5 separate regions of the Homo sapiens genome follow, and all the other regions are linked to region 4. The links are contacts of gene promoters, found by promoter capture Hi-C in blood cells and fetal thymus (Javierre and others, 2016). All regions are on one chromosome and are shown on one strand. The core of a region is centred on a gene start or on the middle of the fragment in contact, and the rest is flanking DNA. Distances in the headings are between cores, read along the strand shown. Region 1 has its middle 22 kb from the start of RAB32. Region 2 has its middle 73 kb from the start of RAB32. Region 3 has its middle 100 kb from the start of RAB32. Region 4 holds the start of GRM1 (glutamate metabotropic receptor 1). Region 5 has its middle 56 kb from the start of RAB32.

What was found. Contacts are between HindIII fragments. The CHiCAGO score rates a contact against its expected background, and 5 or more counts as called.
Region 1: a contact is called between a fragment that was not itself captured here and the fragment with the promoter of GRM1 in region 4, in 4 of 17 cell types (endothelial precursors, M1 macrophages, M2 macrophages and 1 more). The highest score is 7.4, in endothelial precursors.
Region 2: a fragment that was not itself captured here is called in contact with the fragment with the promoter of GRM1 in region 4 in 2 of 17 cell types (endothelial precursors and monocytes); the score reaches 5.9 in endothelial precursors.
Region 3: a contact is called between a fragment that was not itself captured here and the fragment with the promoter of GRM1 in region 4, in 2 of 17 cell types (M0 macrophages and M1 macrophages). The highest score is 6.5, in M0 macrophages.
Region 5: a fragment that was not itself captured here is called in contact with the fragment with the promoter of GRM1 in region 4 in 3 of 17 cell types (M0 macrophages, endothelial precursors and M2 macrophages); the score reaches 7.8 in M0 macrophages.

Annotation. Positions count from the first base shown.
Region 1 is chr6:146,520,659-146,523,358 of GRCh38, forward strand. No RefSeq gene overlaps it. Among named protein-coding and RNA genes, the nearest start is that of RAB32, 22 kb to the right of the region's middle. The HindIII fragment of the contact is 6,008 bases long and covers 1-2,700 here.
Region 2 is chr6:146,469,498-146,472,375 of GRCh38, forward strand. No RefSeq gene overlaps it. Among named protein-coding and RNA genes, the nearest start is that of RAB32, 73 kb to the right of the region's middle. The HindIII fragment of the contact is 1,210 bases long and covers 804-2,013 here.
Region 3 is chr6:146,439,289-146,441,988 of GRCh38, forward strand. No RefSeq gene overlaps it. Among named protein-coding and RNA genes, the nearest start is that of RAB32, 100 kb to the right of the region's middle. The HindIII fragment of the contact is 1,212 bases long and covers 771-1,982 here.
Region 4 is chr6:146,027,770-146,030,469 of GRCh38, forward strand. It overlaps GRM1 (glutamate metabotropic receptor 1), which reads left to right and starts at 1,293. Exons shown (of 8, transcript NM_001278064.2): 1 at 1,293-2,448. The coding sequence starts at 1,749. RefSeq lists enhancers at 1,111-1,611, 1,612-2,112. The HindIII fragment of the contact is 3,742 bases long and covers 1-2,700 here.
Region 5 is chr6:146,486,719-146,489,418 of GRCh38, forward strand. No RefSeq gene overlaps it. Among named protein-coding and RNA genes, the nearest start is that of RAB32, 56 kb to the right of the region's middle. The HindIII fragment of the contact is 495 bases long and covers 1,181-1,675 here.

The DNA.
Region 1 (2,700 bases), core at 136-2,635, 490 kb after region 4:
GAGTTCATTGTAGATTCTGGATATTAGCCCTTTGTCAGATGAGTAGATTGCAAAAATTTTCTCCCATTCTGTAGGTTGCCTGTTCACTCTGATGGTAGTTTCTTTTGCTGTGCAGAAGCTCTTTAGTTTAATTAGATCCCATTTGTCAAGTTTGGCTTTTGTTGCCATTGCTTTTGGTGTTTTAGATATGAAGTCCTTGCTCATGCCTATGTCCTGAATGGTATTGCCTAGGTTTTCTCCTAGGGTTTTTATGGTTTTAGGTCTAACATTTAAATCTTTAATCCATCTTGAATTAATTTTTGTATAAGGTGTAAGGAAGGGATCCAGTTTCAGCTTTCTACATATGGCTAGCCAGTTTTCCCAGCACCATTTGTTAAATAGGGAATCCTTTCCCCATTTCTTGTTTTTGCCAGGTTTGTCAAAGATCAGATAGTTGTAGAAGTGTGGTGTTATTTCTGAGGGCTCTGTTCTGTTCCATTTGTCTATATCTCTGTTTTGGTACCAGTACCATGCTGTTTTGGTTACTGTAGCCTTTTAGTATAGTTTGAAGTCAGGTAGTGTGATACCTCCAGCCTTGTTCTTTTGGCTTAGGATTGACTTGGCAATGTGGGCTCTTTTTTGGTTCCATATGAACTTTAAAGTAGTTTTTTCCAATTCTGTGAAGAAAGTCATTGGTAGTTTGATGGGGAAGGCATTGAATCTATCAATTACCTTGGGCAGTATGTCCATTTTCATGATATTGATTCTTCTTATCCATGAGCATGGAATGTTCTTCCATTTGTTTGTATCCTCTTTTATTTCATTGAGCAGTGGTTTGTGGTTCTCCTTGAAGAGGTTCTTCACATCCCTTGTAAGTTGGATTCCTAGGTATTTTATTCTCTTTGAAGCAATTGGGAATGGGAGTTCACTCATGATTTGGCTCCCTGTTTGTCTGTTATTGGTGTATAAGAATGCTTGTGATTTTTGCACATTGATTTTGTATCCTGAGACTTTGCTGAAGTTGCTTATCAGCTTAAGGAGATTTTGGGCTGAGACGATGGGGTTTTCCAAATACACAATCATGTCATCTGCAAACAGGGACAATTTGACTTCCTCTTTTCCTAATTGAATACCCTTTATTTCTTTCTTCTGCCTGATTGCCCTGGCGAGAACTTCCAACACTATGTTGAATAGGAATGGTGAGAGAGGGCATCCCTGTCTTGTGCCAGTTTTCAAAGGGAATGCTTCCAGTTTTTGCCCATTCAGTATGATATTGGCTGTGGGTTTGTCATAGATAGCTCTTATTATTTTGAGATACGTCCCATCAATACCTAATTTATTGAGAGTTTTTAGCATGAAGGGTTGTTGAATTTTGTCAAAGGCTTTGACAAACCTGAGAAAAACAAGCAATGGGGAAAGGATTCCCTATTTAATAAATGGTGCTGGGAAAACTGGCTAGCCATATGTAGAAAGCTGAAACTGGATCCCTTCCTTACACCTTATACAAAAATCAATTCAAGATGGATTAAAGATTTAAACGTTAGACCTAAAACCATAAAAACCCTAGAAGAAAACCTAGGCATTACCATTCAGGACATAGGCGTGGGCAAGGACTTCATGTCCAAAACACCAAAAGCAATGGCAACAAAAGCCAAACTTGACAAATGGGATCTAATTAAACTAAAGAGCTTCTGCACAGCAAAAGAAACTACCCTCAGAGTGAACAGGCAACCTACAACATGGGAGAAAATTTTCACAACCTACTCATCTGACAAAGGGCTAATATCCAGAATCTACAATGAACTCAAACAAATTTACAAGAAAAAAACAAACAACCCCATCAAAAAGTGGGCCAAGGACATGAACAGACACTTCTCAAAAGAAGACATTCATGCAGCCAAAAAACACATGAAAAAATGCTCATCATCACTGGCCATCAGAGAAATGCAAATCAAAACCACTATGAGATATCATCTCACACCAGTTAGAATGGCAATCATTAAAAAGTCAGGAAACAACAGGTGCTGGAGAGGATGTGGAGAAATAGGAACACTTTTACACTGTTGGTGGGACTGTAAACTAGTTCAACCATTGTGGAAGTCAGTGTGGCGATTCCTCAGGGATCTAGAACTAGAAATACCATTTGACCCAGCCATTCCATTACTGGATATATACCCAAAGGATTATAAATCATGCTGTTATAAAGACACATGCACACGTATGTTTATTGCGGCATTATTCACAATAGCAAAGACTTGGAACCAACCCAAATGTCCAACAATGATAGACTGGATTAAGAAAATGTGGCACATATACACCATGGAATACTATGCAGCCATAAAAAATGATAAGTTCATGTCCTTTGTAGGGACATGGATGAAATTGGAAACCATCATTCTCAGTAAACTATCGCAAGAACAAAAAACCAAACACCGCATATTCTCACTCATAGGTGGGAATTGAACAATGAGATCACATGGACACAGGAAGGGGAATATCACAGTCTGGGGACTGTGGTGGGGTCGGGGGAGGGGGGAGGGATAGCAAAAAAAAAAAAGTGTATTTTTATGGAATACATAAAAGGTAACTCTTGTGAGTTATGACTTTGAGAAAAAAATAAATAAATAAATAAATAAATAAATAAATATTAAGACAGAGTCCAATCAAAAGCAAAAGGCAAAACAAGTTAGTTCCAAGTGACCTCATTTCAAAACTTGAACA
Region 2 (2,878 bases), core at 159-2,658, 440 kb after region 4:
AGCTACTCCTGGATTTGAGGTTAGATAAATGAACAAACTCCTTTGTATTTTTTTTAAGTCTGACTGATTTGATTTTCAGTGTTTTGCACTGGAATGAGTGATGAAGGATCCAATCACTAAGCTGATACATGGCAGAGCCAGTAATTAAACCCAGGTTTTCTGTTCTTTTCCATCACAGTATTTAGATTTGATTTAATCCTTGGTTTTCTCGAAAGAATTCAAGCAAATTAGAATAAGATTTAGCCACAGAAAGTGCCTTAGTTTCGGTTACCCAGAATTAGTCCCTGAGTCAAAGATTTCTGTGCAAGTAATTTACTAAGAATATGCCACAAAGGGAAACTGACATGGACCAGGGAAGCAGAGCAGGAAAGGAGAAGAAACCAAGCAAGGGTGAAATTTCCAGCTAAGTCCCAGCCTCAATCTGATTCCCAGGGGAATTTCCAAGGGAAGTTACACTGAGGAGCTTGTCCTCCTGATTACGCTCTAGTCAGCCATTGCCAGGTGAGCAACCCTGGGTGGAGGGAACATATACTCCCAGGTACTCTTACTATCTGTGAGACCTAGAAATGAGTCCAGTAGCCCAAGGCCAGTCCTCTGAAGAAGACCCATTAAATGCAAAGCACTGACAAAGTTAAGTCTGAATTAGAGGAGCCTTTTCTGGATACATTCTGGCATACTCAGCTTTTCTGGAGTGAGATCCTGGAAAACTCAAAAGTATAGGAAAGGTCTCACTACACTGATGTGAAATTGAAGTCCAACCTGTTTCCTTACCTTCTTGAAATGTTACGCAATTCATGGACAGAAGCTTCCTCGGGTTTATGATTTTCTCACATTTCTTTTGATGCCAGGGGCCATTTTCCCATTCATAAGACCTCAACTCCACCAACTTACCAACATCAACCATCTTAACTTCACTTAGTATGAATTTTCTGACATGCACAGTGGGGAAAATAATAGAGCCTATTTTGATAGCTTGCTTTAAAAATTAAATGACAAAATGCCTTATCACAATACCTAGTACTGAGCTATTTGCATGCTGTTTATGGGCTGAATTGCGTCACCCTCAATACTCATAGATTTAAGTCCTTCTACCTCAGAATGTGACTGCATATAGGTGTGACTCAGTTACAATGAGGTCATTAGGGCAGGCCCTAATCCATTCTAGCTGATGTTTTTATGAGGAGATTTGAACACACAGAGATATCAGAGATGAGTGTTCACAGAGGTGAAACCATGTGAGGACATGGCCAGAAGGCAGCCACCTGCAAGCTGCAAAAAGAACCAAATCTGCTGACATTTTGATCTTGGAATTCTAGTCTCTAGAACCGTGAGAAAATAAATTTATTTGTTTAAGCCACCAAGTTTGTGTTATTTTGTTACAGCATCCCTAGCAAGCTAATACACGTGCATATCAAAACTGTCCCTTCCTTAATTTCTCATTCTAATATCCTATCATTCCTGGGTACATATAAATGGATGGCTATTGTCAGGAAAGAATATTCATCCTCTACACGGTGTTTCCAGCCAACTGAGTTGGACATTTCAGAAACAAATCTTAGAAGAGCATAGAATAGTTTTTCCAGAAGGAAATATTCAACAGATCCATATTCCACCTTCTCTGACACTGTGTTCTCAGCAGGTGGGAAATTATTCTCAAGCCTATATCCCAGAGACTGCAATCATGTTAGCATGAGGACCAGATGGAATAAAACCAGGATCCAACTACATTTATTTTCAGAGCTTTAGAAAAGAACGGAATGGAGTGAAGGTTAGATCTCCCTTTGGTCTCTTGGGTCTAAGTTTGGCTAATCAGCTCCATAAAAGCTACCTTAGGAACACTAGGTACTTAGTGGAAGCTAAACAATCTCTCCATGTAGTGTCTATGATTCTGAAAAATGAATCTAGAAAATCAAAGTCATAAATCTCTTTTTAAGTGCCATCCAAAGAAAACTATTTCCTAAATGAATTTTATTGAAATAATAAGTGCAACAAATAAATCCAGGGTGGCACTAAAGCTTTTCAAAATGGAAAAAGAAAAATGAGTTAAAATATTAGAGCTGAGAAAACAGAACTGCTAGGTGCTCATATCTTTGAAATCACAGTTGATGTTCCTAAAGCAAAAAGAATGCCTCACAGTGTGGACAAAACATCTTCCTATACATTATCCCACTTGAACCTCACAAGAACTCAGAAAATAAACAGGAAAGTGGCTCAAGGTCAGAGAACTCACCAAGTGTTTTGCCTGAGATAAAAACAATTTAAGTGAATAGAATAGGAAAAAAATAAATTTTACAGCAGTTCTAACATGTAGGCATCTGAAGGAAATATTCAAATAGACAAAGGTATGTTAGATTCAGGTTTATTAATGTCGTATCAATCAAGAAGACTTTATTTAATGCACTGTTCTAGTAAAAATATATTCTTTTTGTTCAATAAAATTTTAAGATGCATTCTTCATAATTTATGGGTAAAATCAAATATAAGAATCCAAGGGCAGGAATAGAAGCAAGTTTCCTAAATATACATCACTCTTAAAAATGTTTAAAGACAAAGAGCTGGAGCCTGCACTTTAGATTTACAAGTGATCTCGTTTTGTAATGTCTTAGAGAAATTAGAAAGAGAGCTCCTCCCACTGATTCTTCTTTCCTGTCATTTGTTCAGCTAGAAAATCCAACACTCTAACTATAGATGATGGTTTGTACAAGTCGGACCCCAGGAAAGAGACAGAAACCACACCAACTGTGAAGGTATTTGACTGTCAACTTGGCTAGGCTGTGGTTCCCATTTATTCAACCAAACACTAATCTAAGTGTTGCTGTGAAGGTATGTTGTAGATATGACTAAGGTCCATTATCAGTTGACTTTACATATGGAAAAT
Region 3 (2,700 bases), core at 127-2,626, 410 kb after region 4:
ACATAAATCACCCATGGGAAAAGCAGGGGCAGGTTTCCTTACTTAAAGAAATATGTCTCTTCAGACACAGGCAAACAAAACCAGTTACCAAGAGTTGGAGAAATATGAGGGAGAGGAAGAGCTTAGGTAGGGACTTGAACTAATAACACCAGAAACCTTGATTTTGTGCTTGATTTTCCCAGGGCAGCTTGGGAAGAAAGACTTATTAGTTAATAAACAAGAGAAACAAAGCTTAAGAATGAAGATCACAAAAATCAAAAAGGAAAATAGTGACAGAGGCTTAGAGTTGGAAGTAAACTTAGAAGTCACTTAAAATAAACTTTCACCCTGTTTAGGATTCCATTCTCCTGTGTTCTGTTCCTCTTCCTAGACAGCGAGAAGCCACCACTGATGGGTTGGGCTGGGTACAGGGCCAACTACCTGCAGTTGCTGTGCCAAAGGAGAAGGCAGAGAGCCTTAGACACTGGGAGAAGAAGTCCAAAACCACATTGCTAAACCAGAATGCTGGTCAGAGAACAGAACTCAGGCCCAAATCCAGAATGGAGGCATGACAGGAACCAGGGAATCTACAAGGAAAAATCATCAAGGCAGGCAACAGGGTGGTAGGCTATGAAATTCTGCAGATAAAATGCTGGTGACAAAAATGAGCTTTTCAGAGGATTACATATGTAACCAGAGTTTATTTTAAGGGTCAGGATAGATTTAGGTGACTTTTTTTCACCTCTGCCTAAGTATTTCTGGAGACTAGAATCTTATATTTGATAAGGGAAAGCTTTACTTGTTAGAAAATTCTTTCCTTTCCTGAGTTGAATATTGCTTTTCTCTAATTTTTCCTGAGTTCTGCCTTTTAGAAAAACACTGAACAAATTTAGTCCACTGTGCACGTGACTTCCCTTCAGCTACTTGAATACAGTGATTATGTCATTCTTTAGCAGTTTATGCTCCAAGACAAATCGCTTCTTTCCATTATTACCTTTGTTATTGTCTTCCTAACCCCCTAATCAGGCCATGATCATATCCCAATTTTTGAATATGCTTTAAGAACATATTGTATCCAGAACTGGACACAATACCACACATATACTTTGACTCTCTTTAATCATTATTCTCCTATTTCTGCCTAAATTTACGTTACTTTGTTTGCAGTCTTGCCACATTTTGAGCTCACACTTAGCTCAGAGCCAGCTATAACCCTGAAGCCATTTTTATATGAATTGCAATAATTGGATATGAATATGAACCTTTTCTTAAGTTGAATTTCTCCAGAAAGAGACCCTGAGAGGAGCACTTGCCCACAAGTTGTGTACTGGGGAAGCGATCCCTGGAAGCTCTGGTAGAAGAGCGGGCAAGAGGCAGCAAACAATATGCAGGCAATAAAGGGACATTATCATGCAGGGTTGCCGCTGTGGGAAACAGGAGTTCAGTCCTGCTGGGAACTCTGGGAGACAGTGGAGAACATGCCTCACAAGTGTCCTCACTCCCCGTGGGGCAAGAGAATTGAGGGTAGCAATTGGAGCAATTCCTGTCAATCATGGCTGAACGTTGCTGGGGAGGGAGGTACATGTCAATTTCTAGTTACTCCCTGTGTGTCCCAAGTACAGGCTCCTGTCTCCAGAGAAAGCCCTCAGGCAAAGAGTTGCAGATGCTGGAGGTTGGACATTTTAATGTTGGTTTGTGTGAGGAAGGTAGGCACCAAGGGGACGTGGTCAGAGCAATAGCATACTAGATACAGATGTGATTATGGAGAGAAAGAAAGGTGGAGGCGGGGGAGTGCAGAGAGACAGAGAGAAAGAGAGAAAGTGGGGGGATATTTCCACAGACATAGATAACACTATAGATAAAGACGTGAAAACAAAGACCTGAAGAAGTCAAAGCAAAGGTATATCTAATCATTTGTAGTGGGAACAGGCACTTCTAGAATCACCCATAGAGACTACTATTTCTTCATAGCAAGGAAAATCACAAAAGAAAATTAAAGTGAAAGCTTGCTTTAAATAAGTGTGTTGTTAGATTCTGGATTACTTCCATGCAATGATTCCTTAAATTTAGTCATTATTCTATTACAAAAGTAATAAAATGCATTGTAGACAACTGGGAATTAAAGAAAAAACCTATAGTCACATGATCCAAACATTGACATTGTAGATTTTATTTTTCCTTCCAGTGACTTTCATATAAGTCTCATTTTAACAGAGTTAGAATCAGCTTTCATTTATATTAGATTGATGCAAAGGTAATTGCAGTTTGCAGTTTTTGCTATTACTTTTAATGGTAAAACCCAATTACCTTGGCACCAACCCGATAATTGGGTTTTCTGCTCTTTTTTTTTCATTTAGCATTGTGACCTACAGCAGGAGTCTCCACTTGATCAGATCTGAGGAATCACCCACTTATGGAGTTAGACAAATCTCCCTCTCTCACAGAATCCAGGAAAGCTTTGGGAAATAATTCATACCTGGTTCCTAACTGAGGTTCAAATGTATAGCACCATAGCCAATAGGCAGTAGTGTCCTGGGGAAATCAGATTATGGAGAGGGGCAACAGATGGTGTGAAAGAAGGAGAAAAAAAGAATCATGAGAAATAAGTGAGAGATCCCATTTCTAAAAAAAAAAAAAAAAATTAGCTAGGCACGGTAGCACACCTGTAGTCCCAGCTACTCTGGAGGCTGACATGGGAGGATCCATTGAGTCCCAGGAGTA
Region 4 (2,700 bases), core at 43-2,542:
TCTACCCCGACTCAGGTACTCAGGTATGTCTCAAGTCCATGTCCTCCAAACAGACTCAGGTGAGCGGACACTTCCTCCGGTGAAACCCACCCACAACGGCAGACAAAGTCCCAGTCTATCAGATTTTCCTCCGGGTCCCAGGCGCATTCTCGCTTATGTATTTCTTTTCGTCCTGTATCCTCAGGAAGAGTCGGGACCAATGGGTGCCTGGGTTTTCTTTCTCCTTTTTCTGCCTCACCTCCTGTGCTCTCCTCGCCCGCTCCCATAGCCCCCTTTTCGTCGACTCTCACCTTGAGAAAAGGAGCAGGGGAGGAACGGGAGAGGGAGCCAACTTCAGCCCCGCAGGCGGCTGAGATTTGGCGCCTCTGTCCCCAAGCGGGTGGGTTTGGATATATACCTGCACAAGCGGTGCAAGGTGATGAGAATGAGGGCGGAGGGGCGGTGGGGACTCGAGTGGAAGGGAGTGTGTGTGTGTGTGTGTGTGTGTGTGTGTGTGTGTGTGTGTGTGTATGGGTAAAGAACTCAGAGGAGGGAGGTTGAAAGAGCAAAGCGGGTCAGGGAATTGCAACTCACTGGTCAAAGCGTCCCTTGCAGGCCCTGCCAGGGAATGTCTGGCTGGACCGAGCACTGTCCAGGGTCCTGAAGGCGGCAGGGCTCAGGCTGCCGCGGCGAGAGCAACCCGGAAGCTCCCCTCCGTTCCCTTTCTAGCAACTATGCAAACCCCAAAGCAAGCGCAGGACCCCCCCTAACCCGTCCACCCACCGCGGGAAACAAGTTACCTTATCTGCACCCCTTCTTCTTGAACATACACAGCAAGCCTGACTTCTTACGGGGGAAACATACCAAACTCCTCCATACGGAGACTTTACCAGGCGTTGCCTTAGTAACTAATGTGGATTTTCTTCAAGCTGGCAAATTTATATTTACAGCTGATTTTATGTCAGGGCTTCTTCAACCCCTCAAAATTAAAGTAAAAGGTGCATCCTTTGTTTACGTTTATTTTAAAGTCGCGCTTCCACCTTTACAATGAGTTTCCAAATTTTCTTCTGAAAAAAAGTTGATCTTTTCCAATCCGGAAAGTTCTCTTGGGTTGAAGGACCTAGCTCCTCCCCTCCTCTCTGCTCACCTTCCCCACCGCCCTCCAAGTTAGAAAGCATGATAGGTTTTAGGGGACCAGGAAACGACTTAAGGTTGGAGGAGCGGGCGAGTTGGCGGGGCTCTGCGCCGCCTGGACCCGTGAGGACAGAGGGGGCAGGACACCCCGCCTTCCTCAGTGACCACAGCTGCGCTCCAAGCTGTTCCTGCAGCCGATATCAGGATGTGCCGAAATGAAACGGACAAGGCAACTGTTAACATTATAGACCCCAGAGTTTTAACACAGGTCCTCTGATGACAAGGTTGTGATTTTTCTCTGTCTTTTGTCAGCAGCATCTAGCTCACCGCTGCCAACACGACTTCCACTGTACTCTTGATCAATTTACCTTGATGCACTACCGGTGAAGAACGGGGACTCGAATTCCCTTACAAACGCCTCCAGCTTGTAGAGGCGGTCGTGGAGGACCCAGAGGAGGAGACGAAGGGGAAGGAGGCGGTGGTGGAGGAGGCAAAGGCCTTGGACGACCATTGTTGGCGAGGGGCACCACTCCGGGAGAGGCGGCGCTGGGCGTCTTGGGGGTGCGCGCCGGGAGCCTGCAGCGGGACCAGCGTGGGAACGCGGCTGGCAGGCTGTGGACCTCGTCCTCACCACCATGGTCGGGCTCCTTTTGTTTTTTTTCCCAGCGATCTTTTTGGAGGTGTCCCTTCTCCCCAGAAGCCCCGGCAGGAAAGTGTTGCTGGCAGGAGCGTCGTCTCAGCGCTCGGTGGCCAGAATGGACGGAGATGTCATCATTGGAGCCCTCTTCTCAGTCCATCACCAGCCTCCGGCCGAGAAAGTGCCCGAGAGGAAGTGTGGGGAGATCAGGGAGCAGTATGGCATCCAGAGGGTGGAGGCCATGTTCCACACGTTGGATAAGATCAACGCGGACCCGGTCCTCCTGCCCAACATCACCCTGGGCAGTGAGATCCGGGACTCCTGCTGGCACTCTTCCGTGGCTCTGGAACAGAGCATTGAGTTCATTAGGGACTCTCTGATTTCCATTCGAGATGAGAAGGATGGGATCAACCGGTGTCTGCCTGACGGCCAGTCCCTCCCCCCAGGCAGGACTAAGAAGCCCATTGCGGGAGTGATCGGTCCCGGCTCCAGCTCTGTAGCCATTCAAGTGCAGAACCTGCTCCAGCTCTTCGACATCCCCCAGATCGCTTATTCAGCCACAAGCATCGACCTGAGTGACAAAACTTTGTACAAATACTTCCTGAGGGTTGTCCCTTCTGACACTTTGCAGGCAAGGGCCATGCTTGACATAGTCAAACGTTACAATTGGACCTATGTCTCTGCAGTCCACACGGAAGGTAGGCATTATATTTGGGAAAGAAGGGTACTGAGAAAGTCAGGGCAATGCATGATGTGCTCCTGGGATCATAGTATTGTTCCTGTTTATTTCTAGCACTGTGGGGAACGGAGTTTACCCTTCTCAGTACTGCCCACCCAGGCATTGCCTTTTATCCTCATTTCCTTACAATTATAGTGTAGGAAAATTGTACCCCATAGAATATCTGAGGATAATAGGAGCTGAAAGGGTATCAAACTTTCCATGCAAAGTG
Region 5 (2,700 bases), core at 178-2,677, 460 kb after region 4:
TGGTTTTTTAAATGAAGAGTACTATCTAAAAATCAAAGTCTGGGTGCTAGGTATGTTAATTGATACGCGAGTCTCGCTGCTTGACTTGTACCTTTTATTTAGATTTTCTATTAAATCTTTTCTAGCAGTCTACACTACAGAGTTTAAGTTCACTCAGATCTTCCTTTATTCCATACTTATATTCGCTCCTTCATTGGTGATAAGCCTAGCCCCAACATCTTCAACCTCTTTGCTTATTTGCCCAATCTCCTATGTTGCCCATGTCTCAGCTTATCAGACTTCCCTCATCTCCCATCTCTGACCCCCATCCTGGCACCACCCACCATTACTTGTTCTGCTTGTGTCAAGAAAGGAAGCAAGGGCGTGAGAGAGAGGAGAAAGAAGGGGAAAGAAGGAAGAAAGGAACAATGAATATTAACGGAATGGTCTTGATTTGGCCATGGTTTCCATTGCTGCTTATCTTGCATTGTTACTATATTCCAAAAATTACTGTTAGGTCTTGCTTTTGTTGAAAATTCTGCTTCTATGAAACTGTCGTGGTTTCATCTTTGACTATTATGTGGTTTCTCTCACATTTTTTGTTATAACTGAGTTCTGGTCCACTGAAACTCGGAGGGATAGGTAACAAAAATGGTCATGGGCTCAGAACTTGGACCCTTGGCTGGGTCAGGATGATAGTGTACTGTGAGTGATGGTGGCCTGTGTGTATGTATCTGTGTTTGGGGGAGGGAAGCAGGGAGCAATTTCAGTAAGGAATGATGACATCTATTTTGAAATGAAAAAGAAAAGAAATGTGTCTCCTCTTCTCAATGCCCACATCTCTCCTGATTAATTCTGATGATCTCCTGACTGGCCTTTCTGCCTTTGATTTTCTCTCAATTTAACTTTTTCTTTTACTGGAGATTATGCATCTTCCTCCATCAAGCTGACATCTCTTCTTTATCCACCACTACTCTGGGTCCAGCTTAGCCTGGGGGATATTTCTGTTTTACTACTTATGGCACTAATTTGACCTGTCTCCTTATCAAGAAACTCTGAGGTTCTATAGAGCAGGAACCATTTAAATCCCAGGATTAAAAATACCTGGAATTTACTATATACTCAATAAACATTCGCTGAATGAATAAGTTAATGAGACCAGTCTCATTAAGGAATATTCAAGGAATATTGTGTCTAAGGAAGCTTGTGTTAGATATTGTCATCTCTTCCTTTATAAGTTAGTTTCTGCCATTGAATTATTTTGGGGTGGGGAGGGACGGAGGGCAAGACTCAGGAGTCTGCATTTTTAACACGACCCCTAAGGAATTCTATCCAGGTCATACTTTAATAAAAACTATGATTTGTTTCTAGTTTCTTAATTTTAAGTCCAAAGAGAGAATTTCATTCTCCAGAGCAACCAGTAGAGCATTGAGAATTAGAGGCACTAAATGAATTATGTGTTTTTATAAGGAGCTGAGATGCAGCCTTAATTACCTATTGATCTTTCTGGGATGAAAATTGACACAGCAATATTTTTCTTCTACCCTACCATTCATGCCACTTAAATACTTATTTATATTCTTCCAAAGTACTGTTTATTGTCTATGTACTTTATGGCTGAGTCTAAAAACAAAACTTCCTGTCTCTAAGAAATATGGATATTCTATTTATCTTGATTTACAAGAAACAATAGACAAGCTTCTAGGATTGCAAGATTGTTCAAGCATGACCCAATGGGCTCTAACAAATTCAGACTCAGAGATTATTGACAGATAATCCAGTCTCCTATACTATGTTCAAGACTAGGTAAATGGCAAACACGTTTTTGGTATCATGGCATGTATTTTTCTCACTCAGGGTGATATTAACAGATTATGCCCTTTTCTGCACAGCTGGATTGCTTTATATCTTTTCTACTGATAAACTCATAAGGGAAATAATAGATTCTTCCTGTTTCAGACCATTTATTGGATAAAAAGCTGACAGAGTTGTAGTTGTCTTTGGAAAAAATAATTTAAAAAAATAGTTTGTGTTTGGCAGTGAAACAGAGCACTAAGGTGTGGGTACTTCCACTGTCAGAGAAAAATCTGCACTCGGTAGGACCACTCACTCTAGGAAGGGAGTGACGGGGGTCTCACCAGAGGCCAGATCAGCCAAGCATGTGGCTGGATGGAGTAGGTGAGGTCAACGGCTGTGTCCACTATTTTAAAATCCCGTTTCTCTCCTTGAGATATAACTGGAATCTTGGCCTCCTGTTGAGTCATTCACAGCTTATTTCCCCATGGATGCCAGCAGTTGTCTGCTCCACTTCACCTGTTGGCTTTTATATTTTGTCAGTGTATTTTATATCCTCTAGTCTGTTCTTGAACCTCTTCTTTCCCTATGTCATGGCCTTTGCATATTCAAGTTTATATCAGAGCACGAGGGTCCTGAAAATTCCAAAATGCTCTCAAACTACGATACCCATTTAGCAAGAGGGACTTGAACGACACTTATTCTCCTATACTCAGTTACAGAAATTAAAGAAAGGAATAATAGATGGAATCTGTGAATCCATCTCTCTCTCTAGCTCTCTCTGTCTTTTCAGCTTTCTCTCTTTCCTTCCTTCTTTGACAGGAAAAAGCGGGGGGAAGTTTAGACCTATATAATGAAGGACTTTTTTCTAAAGTGTATCACAATAGAAAAGTAGAAATGAGCCATATATAAACCAGTAACAGTTAC